2 separate regions of the Homo sapiens genome follow, and region 1 is linked to region 2. The links are contacts of gene promoters, found by promoter capture Hi-C in blood cells and fetal thymus (Javierre and others, 2016). All regions are on one chromosome and are shown on one strand. The core of a region is centred on a gene start or on the middle of the fragment in contact, and the rest is flanking DNA. Distances in the headings are between cores, read along the strand shown. Region 1 overlaps PTK2 (protein tyrosine kinase 2). Region 2 holds the start of SLC45A4 (solute carrier family 45 member 4).

What was found. The method cuts DNA at HindIII sites, captures the fragments that hold promoters and counts their contacts. A CHiCAGO score of 5 or more calls a contact.
Region 1: a fragment that was not itself captured here is called in contact with the fragment with the promoter of SLC45A4 in region 2 in 1 of 17 cell types (total B cells); the score reaches 5.3 in total B cells.

Annotation. Positions count from the first base shown.
Region 1 is chr8:140,849,417-140,855,836 of GRCh38, reverse strand. All of the region lies in intron 5 of PTK2 (protein tyrosine kinase 2), which reads left to right. Among named protein-coding and RNA genes, the nearest start is that of MIR151A, 120 kb to the right of the region's middle. The HindIII fragment of the contact is 8,505 bases long and covers 1-6,420 here.
Region 2 is chr8:141,305,757-141,312,113 of GRCh38, reverse strand. It overlaps SLC45A4 (solute carrier family 45 member 4), which reads left to right and starts at 3,826. Exons shown (of 9, transcript NM_001286646.2): 1 at 3,826-4,018. RefSeq lists silencers at 3,591-3,830, 3,851-3,950. The HindIII fragment of the contact is 5,295 bases long and covers 1,710-6,357 here.

The DNA of each region.
Region 1 (6,420 bases), core at 1,711-4,210, 460 kb after region 2:
GTAACTCTTTTCATTTTATAAAACTGAAAGTCTATAGACAATATTTCCCCATTTGTCCTCCTTGCAGCCCCTGGCAACCACCATTCTACTTTCTGTCTCTATGATTTTAAAATGTAGGACTTTTCATGTACCTTGTATACTAGTCCTTTGTCATGTTATGTTTTGCTAGTATTTTCTCTGAGTCTGTGGCTTGTCTGTTCATTTTCTTAACTGATCTTAGGTTTTCTTTTTTTGTTTTTTTTGAGACAGAGTCTTGCTCTGTTGTCCAGGCTGGAGTGTGGTGGCGTGATCTTGGCTCACTGCAACCTCCGCCTCCTGGGTTCAGGCGATTCTCCTGCCTCAGCCTCCTGAGTAGCTGGGACTACAGTCGCCCGCCACCATACCTGGCTAATTTTTTGTATTTTTAGTAGAGATGGGGTTTCAGCATGTTGGCCAGGATGGTCTCAATCTCCTGACCTCGTGATCCACCCGCCTCGGCCTCCCAAAGTGCTGGGATTACTGACGTGAGCCACCACACGTGGCGACCCCCCCCTTTTTTTTTAAGTCTAGAAAATGGGCAGAGGGGATTGTTGTGAGTCTTCAGTGAAACAGCATATCAAAGCTCTTAGAAATGTCTGGCACATAGTGAACACACTCCTTAGTGTTCTCTTTTAATTTCTATGTAAATGAATCAGTATTTTTAATGGGGCCAGATGCAGTGGCTCATGCCTGGAATCTCAGCCCTTTGGGAAGCTGAGGCTGAAGGACCACTTGTGCTTGAGTTTGGGCTGCAGTGAGAAATGGTTGTGCCACTGTACTCCAGCCTGGGTGACAGAGCAAGACCCAGTTTCTAAAAATACATATATTTTATACATACATATATATATTTGGTTTAGCCAGTGCAGAAATAAAATAATTATGTTTAAATTATTTCTACCACCACCCCATCCCATGAAAAGAAGAGAGGGAGGGAAATAGATTACAATAAACTCCCCTAATTTTATTATTTCTCATTCTGAAAATTCATCCAAGTCCATTTTGGGTGGGGTCATGAGGAAAACACTGATGAGTGTTTGAGCGTTATATTACTAGTTAGACATAATTATTAAGGATGCACATAGCTTCATTAAAAGATGGCCTAAATGTAACTACCAATGTGAAAATTTCAATGACTTACTAAATATTTTGACCTATTTGTGAATATTCTGAAATATATTAATTAGCACATTCTAAAAATAAATTAGAATCTTGTTATAACAGTATTCACTGTTATAACAGTATATAGAGCAGGAATTTATAAAAATGAGTTTGACAATAAAGCTAATGACTCATGAGGAAGCAGGAACAGTTTGTTTTACCCCGGAATCAAATTTTTTTCTTTACCGTGTAACGTTTATTTTTTCTCTCACAACTTTCATTTGTTAAAGTTATAAGTATTTCATTGGCAACTTTTTGCAAATGATGGTGGCTGTTAGTTTGAAGGCCAGTGTCCATGTTTAGTCAAGAAGTCATATTAATCTGCATTGAGGATGCTGAACTTGTATAGAAATCTTTTAGCACTGTTGAAATGTTCAGCTCTTCAGATGCCTGAGCCTGATACGAGTTTGTCATTGTTTACTCCTACAGATGTTTTAAGACTTAGAATGAGTATGTCCACCCATTAACTTTTAAATGACATTAAATAATCAGTGGTTTCCTTGACAAAAGGAGTTGCAATAGGAAGTTGAAGAAAATACTGAGTCTAAAACTGTAACTTAACTCTATGGTATAGAATCTAAACTTAACTATAGGAACATGTGAGGTGCCAGGGCATACTTATTTCTTATTGGTCACCTTCCTTTTATTTTTATTCCAGTTTTCTTTTGTAGTTTTACAAGTTTTCAGATAATTGTGTCATTAGAAATTGACTTCCTTCTCTATATTTTCTTGGCCTTAAAGCTGTCGTTAAGATACATTTTGAAATTGCAGGTCTAAGAGGTAAAACTTAGTTTAAGCCTGGCATTCTCAGTATAGGAATTATCAGCTGCCCTTTTCCAGACAGAAGCTAAAATGTAATGTAGTCTAACTCTCTTATTAGAAGGTTTATTTTCTGTGGTTTGAAGATTTAATTGTGTACATTTCTTCTCCCTTTTTCACTCTTGTATATTTTTGATAATTGAAGGAGAAGCACTCATGGTTAATAAAGGGTGTGACACTCATGCACACGTGTGTTTACTGTGGCACTATTCACAACAGCAGAGACTTGGAACCAACCCAAATGTCCATCAGTGATAGACTGGATTAAGAAAATGTGGCACATATACACCATGGAATACTATGCAGCCATAAAAAAGGATGAGTTCATGTCCTTTGTAGGGACATGGATGAAGCTGGAAACCATCATTCTCAGCAAACTATCACAAGGACAGAAAACCAAACACCACATGTTCTCCCTCGTAGGTGGGAATTGAACAATGAGAACACTTGGACACAGGGCAGGGAACATCACACACTGGGGCCTGTCGTGGGGTGGGGGGAGGGGGGAGGGATAGCATTAGGATATATACGTAATGTAAATGACAAGTTAATGGGTGCAGCACACCAACATGGCAGATGTATACATATGTAACAAACCTGCATATTGTGCACATGTACCCTAAAACTTAAAGTATTAAAAAAAAAAAAGAGTGTGACATCATATGCAAAGGTTTGCCAAGCAGAGACTCTGGCCTGAGCTTGAGTGTTTAAGGTGTGTGTTGGAGGTCAGTCTCATAGGCATACAACGCCTACGTGACTGACCTCATTTATTCACTTTCCAGACCCTAGAGAGAAAACAGGTGTTTACCATCAAAACAGTGTGTGCATAAATTATCTGGTTCAAATTGGTGGCCAGTTTTTTCACCAGTTGGTGGTCAAATTGTGGCCGTCTTCAGGTATGCAGAAGCACTCTTATCAGACAGAACATTTCAGGGGTTTAGTTTCTAAGAGACTAAGGGCCAGCCCTAAAAATATGCCTTTCGTGGGAATGAACAGGATTTGAGCATCCCAGACCTGCCGCTGAGTTAACATTTTCCTGTATAACTTGCCTTTTCTTTCCTGGAATTAGGTTACTTCTGCTCAGTCTTCAGCTCTTAATTTAAATGGTGCTTTCCACGTAAAGCCTTCCATTTACCTGTGCATAGTACCCGTACATTTCCCATACAACATATACACATTTTAAAATACAAAATTTGTTTTATTGAGGTATAATTTACATACAATAAAATAATTTAAGTATGCAGTTTAGTGAGTTTTGACAATTGTATACAGTCCAGTAATTACCACTTCAGTCATGATATAATACAATATAGGAATAAGGAAATTGATACTGGCAGAATACTGTTAACTAGACTGCAAACCTAATTTAGATTTCACTAATGTTTACACACATTCAAGTGTGTGTGTGTGTGTAATTCTGTGCAGTTTTATCACAGGTGCAAATGTATGTAATCATCATAATCAAGATACAGAACTATCCTATGGACACAAAGAAAATCCCTGTTGCTTTATTAGTCACATGCTGTCCCATCCCTAACTCTAGCAAGCACTGATCTGTTGTTTATACGTTATATTTAACTGTCGTTAATCTGTTGTACCTACCAACAGGGTGTGCATTCAGTGAGAGCAAATAAGAAGTCTGTCTTCTTCACCGTTGTATCCACCACACAGTAGGGCATGGGTTTTAGGTGCTCAGTTTATTATCTTCGGGAATTTAATATTGAGAATTGACTTTTAATCCTAATGCCCTGATATTCAAAACTTTTAGATGAGATTTATTAGAAGATGTCATGAAAAAAATCCAAGAAATAAAGCAAATTTTTGAAGTTTGAGAAATCAGATTGTGTGTGTGCACACACATGTATGTGTGCATGTGCTCCCACCCAAGTACACACACGGGCACACACACACTCAACATCAAATGTTCTTTTAAAAGATTGCTATGCAGTTAGATTCATTTACTACCTTTTTTTTTTTTTTTTTGAGATAAAGTCTCTCTCTGTCACCCACGCTGGAAAGCAGTGGCATGATCTCGGCTCACTGCAACCTCTGCCTCCCGGGTTCAAGCGATTCTCCTTCTTCAGCCTCCCGTGTAGCTGGGACTACAGGTGCACACCACCATGTCTGCCTAATTTTTGTATTTATAGTAGAGAGATGTTTTTGCCATGTTGACCAGCCTGGTCTTGAACTCCTGAGCTCAAGCGATCCACCTGCCTTGGCCTCCCAAAGTACTGGGATTACAGGTGTGAGCCACCATGCCTGGCCCCTTCATTTACTTTTAATAAAATTTGGGGTTACTTAACCATTATAAATGGACAACAAAAAGAGATAATGGAAACATTTGTTGTCATATAGCTTTATGGTCTATCCTCAATAGAACATCCAAAGTAATTATTTTTAAATGAAAATTTACCATTACCTTTGTGTAAGTTCCATGTTTGTTTTATTCACTATAATATCCTGGCGCATGATAGTCATTTTATAAACATTTGATAAATCAATGAATGTGTAACTGTTAAATACTATGTTAAATGACATTGAACTGTTTAAAAGTATATAACTCATTAAGGTAGCGTAATTGTTCATTTGTATATTTTTATAGCTTAGGTATGAAAGAGGAAAAATTAAGTTAGTATTAATTTGGAGCTGCCATTGAGTTCCTTCTGTATACAAAATACTTCACAGTATCTGACAAAAACTCAGTCAGCTAGGCTCTAAGAGTAAAATTACTTGCTTTTGGTCACCCAGCTAGTAAGTAAACCTAGTCAGTTTTTTCTTTGTCTGCCCTCTGCCCCATCCTCTTTCTTTGCTACCAAGGTCATTTGAGTCCAACTGATAAATTTGTGTAGCTGTTAGAATATTCAAAAGAGACCACAATAAAACACAAAATCTCATGTGGTAGCCAAATCATTGAGTTGACATATGCAATACATTATGGAGTAATTTAGCATCAATATTTTCTGTTACAAAATGTGAACAGTTTTTATATTAAAACCTGTGCTTCATTCATTCTATTGCAGAGTATGATGAAGGAACTCCTTGATACAAATACAATACTTGCACAAAGAAAGAAGTCCAAATCCATCCTAGTTTTTTTTTCTTTTTCTTTTTTGAGATGGAGTCTCGCTCTGTCGCCCAGGCTGGAGTGCAGTGACACGATCACGGCTCACTGCAAGCTCCGCCTCCCGCGTTCACGCCATTCTCTTGCCTCAGCCTCCCAAGTAGCTGGGACTACAGGTGCCTGCCACCACGCCCGGATAATTTTTTTTTTTTTTTTTTTAGTAGAGATGGGGTTTCACTATGTTAGCCAGGGTGGTCTCGATATCCTGACCTCGTGATCTACCCGCCTTGGCCTCCCAGAGTGCTGGGATTACAGACATAAGCCACCGCGCCTGGCCCGTCGTAGTTTTTTTTTGAGACGAAGTCTCACTGTTGGCCCCCAGGCTGGAGTGCAATGGCACGATCTTGGCTCTCTGCAACCTCCGCCTCCTGGGTTCAAGCAATTCTCCCGCCTTAGCCTCCCGAGTACCTGGGATTATAGGTGCCTGCCACCATGCCCAGCTAATTTTTGTATTTTTAGTAGAGACGGGGTTTCACCATGTTGGCCAGGCTGGTCTCGAACTCCTGACCTCAGGTGATCCACCCACCTCGGCCTCCCAAAGTGCTGGGATTACAGGCGTGAGCCACTGTGCCTAGCCAACAAATTAATTTTTAAAAACCAACTTTCAGAAGTCTTTTTTTTTGGAAGGATCTTGCAAATTTCCTGGACCTGGGTATAATCCACAATAGAAAAAGAGAGTACAACACAGTGCCAGTGTTCCAATACCTCAGGAGATGCATATGAATCTATTGTGGTTGATACTGGGGATGCAAGGGTAAATGAGAGGTGGTTCCTATTTGTTAATCTTCATTCTAGTAGAGAATGACTGCACTGTGAAAGAGTTGACAAGTAGTAGGTACAAACTAAAGCTGGAGTTTTCGGGGTTGATACATCTGGATTTTGAATCCTGACTTTAATACGTGTTCAACACGAAGTTAAGTTTTCTGATCTTTATATATAATAGGACTAATAAACTCTACCTTGAAGAATTATTGTAAAGATCAGAAATATACGTAAAATGCTTAGCGTAGTAACTGGTCCCTGGTGGATACTCCTTAAGTAGGATTATTATCTACTGCTATCATTTTGATCAATCTTTTAGGCTTTTTCTGAGGCTATAAAATGGGGATGATAATAGTACCCACCTCACAGTGATGTTCTGATGATTAAATGAGATATTACATGTAAATCTGCTTGACATGGTGCTAGGTATATATACTTTATAGAAACCTAAATGCTTGATCAGTTTGGTTTCACAAATGATAGCAATTCTGCTGGGAGTTAGTGGAAGACAGGTGGTCAAGAAGTGTTTTATAAGGGATATG
Region 2 (6,357 bases), core at 2,577-5,076:
AAGACAAGGTTGGAACCTAAGCAGTGATGGAGGCACCACGCCCTGGACTCGTCCCAGCATCGGGGAGGTTGTCATGCTCACAAAGATGCAGGATTTGCCACAGCATTTGTGGGGCCCTTCTTAAAAGCTGTGAAGCATTTAAAGATGGCAACAGCAGAGCGCTAAGCCAAGCGTGGAGCTATTCTGAGCACTGGGTATGTGTGACTACACAGGTCACACACCCATGACAGCTAAGGGCCCAGGCACGCCTGCTTCAGAGCCAGGCCAGAGTCCGTGTCTTTCTGACCCCTGGGCAAGAGGGCTTCCCCGTATCAAGCTCTCTCCTCACAGGACTGGGGAGCCAGCCATTTAAGGAGGGGGTGGAGTGGGGCAAAGATGTGTGGGGGCCCTGAGGATTCCATTCCCCGGCTTCCATGGGCAGCTGGACAATGGGGCCACAGGCCACTGACACATATCACCCTTCTTGGTGGTGGCAGGTAATATAAGGCCCTGGCCGGGTAGGCTGGGAAGGAGTGCTGCAGGGTGGCCCTGCCACTGCCCTCTTGCATAGGCATGCACACGCACACATGCACACGCACACACACACACATGCACACACGCACATGCAAACATGCACACACATGCACACACGTATGCACACACACATATGCACACACGCATGCACACACACTTGTTGAGGTGCTTGCACAATGGGGATATATTTTTTCTTAACTTTACTCTGGTCTCTGTGTTTAACTCCAGGTTATAGAAGTAAATTAGTTGGGTTTCCACATCTCAGGCTTAGAAACTGCCTTCTAAGTTTCATTCACAAGAAACTTCATGCCTACACTTACATTCTTTTTTTTTTTTTTTGAGACAGGGTCTTGCTCTGTCATCCAGGCTGGAGCACAGTGGTGCAATCATAGCTCACTGTAGCTTTGAACTCCCAGGCTCAAGTGATCCTCCTGCCTCAGCCTTCTGAGGGCTGAGATTACAGGCATGTGCCACCACACCCAGCTAATTTTTGAATTCTTTGTAGAGATGGGGCCTAGCTATGTTGCTAGGCTGGTGCCTATACTTCTATACTTGCATTCAGTTACTCTTTTAGAGGCTTTTTTTTTTTTTTTTTTGAGATGGGGTCTCATTCTATTGCCCAGGCTGGAGCGCAGTGGTGCGATCTCAGCTTACTGCAACCTCTGCCTGCCAGGTTCAAGTGATTCTCCCGCCTCAGCCTCCCAAGTAGCTGGGCCCACAGATGCACACTGCCCCAATCAGCTAATTTTTGTATTTTTAATAGAGATGGGGTTTCGCCATGTTACCCAGGCTGGTCTAGAACTCTTGAGCTCAAGCAATCCACCCACCTCGGCCTCCCAAGGTGCTGGGATTACAGGCATGAGCCACCACCATGCCCAGCCCCAAGAAATACTTATGGAGCACCTACTACAAGGCTGATCCTAGACTGGGCTCCATGGCTACCATGGCTGGTACATACCCCACAATGCACTCCTTAAGAAGAGAGATGGGATCATGTTCCCAGCTCCAGTACTAGGACCCAGCAAAGCGTGTGGCACATAGTAGGCACACACTCAGTAGTTGGTTACTGCATGAATGACAATGAAGACAATTCAATCAATACCAGCAATTTGTGAATAAACAAAGTCTTTACCTGTTCTGTCCTCTTGATTGTATTGTCATTTTAAAAAGCATCATTTTGCTATTTTGTTTAAGCTTCAGGACAACTTGTGAACTAGGTACTATTAGAATGCTCACTTATAGAAGAGGACTCAGGGAGGTTAAGTAGGCGCCCAGGCTCACACAGTTGGCTCACAGCACACCTGGAATTGCCGCTGCCTCTATCCTTTGGCCATTGAAAGAAAAATCACCAGGGAAGCAGATGTACAGTTTGAGCACTCATGATGTGTCTGATGCTGCTTTGGACTGTCTACAGACCATTGATGTACTTACTAACCCTCTGTTGAGATACTGCATACACATGGAAAAACACACACGTCTTTTTTTTTTTTTAATAGAGATAGGGTCTTACCATGTTGCTCAGGCTGGTCTCAAACTCCTGGGCTCAAGCAATCCACCCGCTTTGGCCTTCCAAAGTGTTAGAATTACAGGCGTGAATCACCGTGCCCCACAGGCACATGCATCTTGACTGCACAGCTGGAAAAGTCATCATAAACTGAGCACACTGTAACCAGCACTCAGACCAAGACACAGAACACAGCCAGCCCCCAGACACGTCCTCTGTGCCCTGCTTCCTGGCTCTGGCACCCCTCCCTCCAAGGGTAACCACTATCCTGACTGCTACCCCCATATACACCTTCTACCACTTTATCCACATGGAAACAAATATGGCTTTTTATCCTCTGGCTTCTTTTCCTCAACATCATTTGTGAGAGTCATCCATGTTGTTGTGTGTAGTTGATTATTCACTGTCATTGCTGTCATTCCACTGTGTGAATATATCACAATTTATGTATCCATTTAACGGCTGATGAGCATTTCAGTAGTTTCCAGTTTGGGGCAATTATAAACACTGCTGCTATCAACAGAAACACAATGTTAGGTGTGTATCTAGGAGCAGAATTGCTGGGTAATCAAGGCCTTTCAAAAAGATTTTGAAAGTTGTACCACTTTGCATGTCCACCAACAGTGTCTGGCAGTTCCAGTTGCTCCATTTCCTTGTCAACACTTGATATGGTCAGATTTTCCCATTTCCGATGCTCTTGGAGGCTCTGCTCTGCACTTCACTTCTAAATTCCTTTAGCAACAGGTGAGATGGATCTTACGATTTCTATTTTACAGATGAGGACGCCAAGGTTCTGAGAAATGAAGTAATTCCTCCAAAGCAACTTAAACCCTGGCAAGGGTGCAGGGCTGCGACGTTAACAGGGTTGGCCTCAGCCCATCACATCTGTCTGTTAAAGCCGCCTCCCCAGACCTTGTCTTGATGGGGTTTCCCAGCAGTCCTGCCCTAGGGATTGTGGCCCTTCTACACGTGGGGAGAGACGGATCAGTGTCCCTGGCCAGGGCCAAGCCTGAGAGGGAGGCCCAGCCTCCAGGAAGCTCCGGGTCGGGTCTTCGTCCTGCCCCGCTCTCCAGGTTGGAGAGGGGACCCGCAGAGCGCGGGGCGTTGGGGGAGTTGGGGACGGGGGCGTGGTCCGGGACCAGGTAGGAGGTCTTCGGAGGGTGGCAGGGAGGGGAAAACAGGAGAGTTTTCTCCTGCAGCGGAGGAGGGGCTGCAGCACCTGGATGGGGCCCATGTCGCCGCGCCACGGGCAGGGGCGGAGGGGGCGGGAGGGTGCTTGCCAAGGGGCTGGGCTGCCGGGGGCCGGGGCCTCGTGGCTAGCCGGACCCCTCTGCGACAGAGTGGCGAGAGGAGCGGGGAGAGAAGGTGGGGACAGGCGGGGGCCACCTCCTGCGGCTGCAGAGAGGGATGGGGTGGATTGCGGGCCAGCGCTTTAGGGGAGAGAGGGCGGACGCTCGGTGCGGAGGGGCCGGGGCCGGGGCCGGGGCCGGGGGCGTAGCGGGAGGAGGGCGGGGGCGGGGCTGGATTATGGCTGGGGGCGGGGCCATGGCGAGACGGGGGCGGGAGCCACGGTGCGCGCGGGGGCGGGGCAGGGGCGCGGCGGGGGCGGGGCGGCCGTTCGGGGGCGGGGTGGGCGGCAGCGGAGGCCAATGAGCGCGCGCGGCGCAGACCCCGCCCCCCGAATCCCCGTCCCGCGGCGGCGGGTGCTGCATAGTCATGAGGCGCAGGGGCCGGCGCTGCGTCAGCGGAAGCGGCGCGGAGCGGCTGTTTCCGACCCGATAAAGCGGCGTTGTCTCCGCGCGCCGGCCGCAGCCTCGCAGCGCTCTCTCCGCGCCCGCGTCGCTGACTGACCGCCCGGCCGGCCGGCCGAGGGAGCAGCCCCCGCCCGGACCCGCAGCCGCCTCCCGACCCCGGTGCGCCCGGGGCTCCGCGCCCCCGTAGCCCCTGCCCGGCCCGGCCCGGCCGCCCCGCCGCCCCCGCGGCCCCGGCCGGAGGAGACAGGTGAGTGGCCTGCCGCCCGCAGCCGCCTGCCCCGCCGCCCCCTGCACCTCGCACCTGGGCGCCGGGCACCTGCAGCCTCCCCACCCCCACCTCCCGCACAGCCTCGGCCTCCAGGTCGGGTCCGCGCCGCAGCCCCAGCCCCGCACCTTCTCCGGGGGAGGGGACGTGCCCCCACCCGGCTTGCGCTGGCTCCTCAGGGCCCCCCAATTCCTTCCCGCCTCCTCTTTCCGGATTGCACCTGCCCTGGTCCCCAGCCCTGCAGCCTCCCTCATTCCCCCCACCCCGGCCCCCACCCCGGGGCGCGCGCCTTCATTTGGACCCGGCCCGCTTTCGCACCCATCAGTCCTCCCCGCCCCCAGTTCCTCGGTTTCTCTACCCAGAGAGGAGCCTGGCGCCTCTAACTCCTGGTCCTGACCCTGTCTTGTCCTTCTAACCCCTGCCTGCTATCTCTAACTTATGAGAATTCAACCAGCGATACACCACTCGCGAAGTGGCCCCCTCTCCCCTCTGTCTGGACCGGTCCTCCCAACCGAACACACTCCCTTCTTCCCCTTCTTCCCCTTCCCTTCTTCCCCTCCTTTCCCTCTGCCCAGTGCACACACGACCCTGGCAGCACTGCTAGCCAGTGTCCCCCGCCTCGGACCCCCAGCCTGCACCGCCAGACTGTGGCTCTGCCCCGGTCTCATCGGCACTGCGCTCCCTTGTGTCCCTTTGAAGATACCTTGATTTCCTGAGACCGACCTTGTCCCTGGAGGAAAGAGGCCAGGGCATCAGTTCATCCGGGCCCAGATTCCCTGCTCTGTAGAAGTCCCCGCACCTTCTGCGTCTCAGCACCCGCTGCCCCTTTCCCCTTTGCGCTTAACCCGTTCCTCCCCCAGGTATCCTGCTCTGGATTGGAGCACTTCCAGCAGCGGCTTTTCCAGCGGAGGCGGATCCACACGGGGCCCAGCCTCCTGGTTAGCTATTCAGAATGATTCTAGAAGGCGGGGGCTAGGGAGGGCTGGGAAGGGCCGCTTGACCTCCTAAGGAGCCTGAGGTGTTTGTGTCTCTCCAGTGCGGGTCACTGATGGAGTGTGGCTTCAGGTTCACAGACCTAGCCACTGACCCCCATCTGATACCTCAGCTGACTCCAGCAAAACAGGGCTTGTCGTTTTTATTACTGTTTTGGGGGCTGTCTTTTCCAGTCTATGACCCGGAGCGAGGAGGGTTTACCAGATGAGTGATTGAACTAATTGTTGTGGGGTCAGATGATTCTTGTGGGCTGGTAGATTCTGAATCGAAGCCCATTTCTGCTGGGGAAAAGCCACTGCATCTGCCCAGCATTACTGAGAGCGCCCTGCGCTTCCATTCCCCAGACGGTCTCATCCTTCCTGTGTCATTGGCAGACAGGTAGAATGTGGTAGGAATCTTATCCTTCTGTTATTTTGTGCTGGCTTTAGGAAAAAATAAGAAAACAAAAAGCTGGAGTATTGGTGTACAGGTTAGGGAGTGTAACACATGGGGATCAGAGCAGGTAACACACACTGTCCTTAAAAGAAATGTATAGTGTCCTCACTTTTCTGCTAGGTTTGAATTATTGTTAAAAGAACGAGCAGAGATTATTTAAATGCTTGGGAGAGGTTTTGCAGAAGCCACTTGATGAGAAGAGGCAGCCCTGCAGGTTCCGGGTGGAGGAGACTCAGGCGCAGTAAAGAACTCATGTGTTTCTAGAGAGAGGCTGGGGAACTAGGTCGTCTTACACATCAAGGATTTCACACCCGTTCAGGCTAATTGTTTTTGTGGCAGTGGCTGTAAAGGAAAGAAGCAAATCGTTTGAAATGTGTTTGAAATACACACTGGGTATTTAAAGGTGTGTTTTTTTGGCCCAGGTGTTCACAGGGCGGGGAGTGGGGAGGCTGCCCAGGGCCACCTCCCGGGCCTCGTGGGGGGAGTGGCCTGCTGCCCTGCCGAGATGCGTGCTGCAGCTTTGGCCCTTGTCGCATCGTGAAAGCAGATCAGAGATTGGACTGGGTGAGCTCCAAGGTGTGTGTCTTGCAGCTTGTAACACCCTCTAACTTTGCTTATTGGAGGGGGGTGGGGGAGGGGCGGAGCAAGCCTGTAAACCGGATTCTGCCTCCTTTCCGTGAGCTCTGAGATCCCGCCCCAGCCCGCCCCGCAGATCTGCAGGGAAGGAGAGGGCTGCGGCAGCGGCAGCTCCCCACTTTCCCGATGGAGGAAAGGAGCCGAGGAAGGTATTTCAGCCAATCTTGAGGTTGCTTGGTGGTGAATGGATTGTATCTGTGTTGTCAGGAGAGAGGTGGGGAGGACAGAGGAGTGCAGCGCAGGGGTTCGGGCTGTGA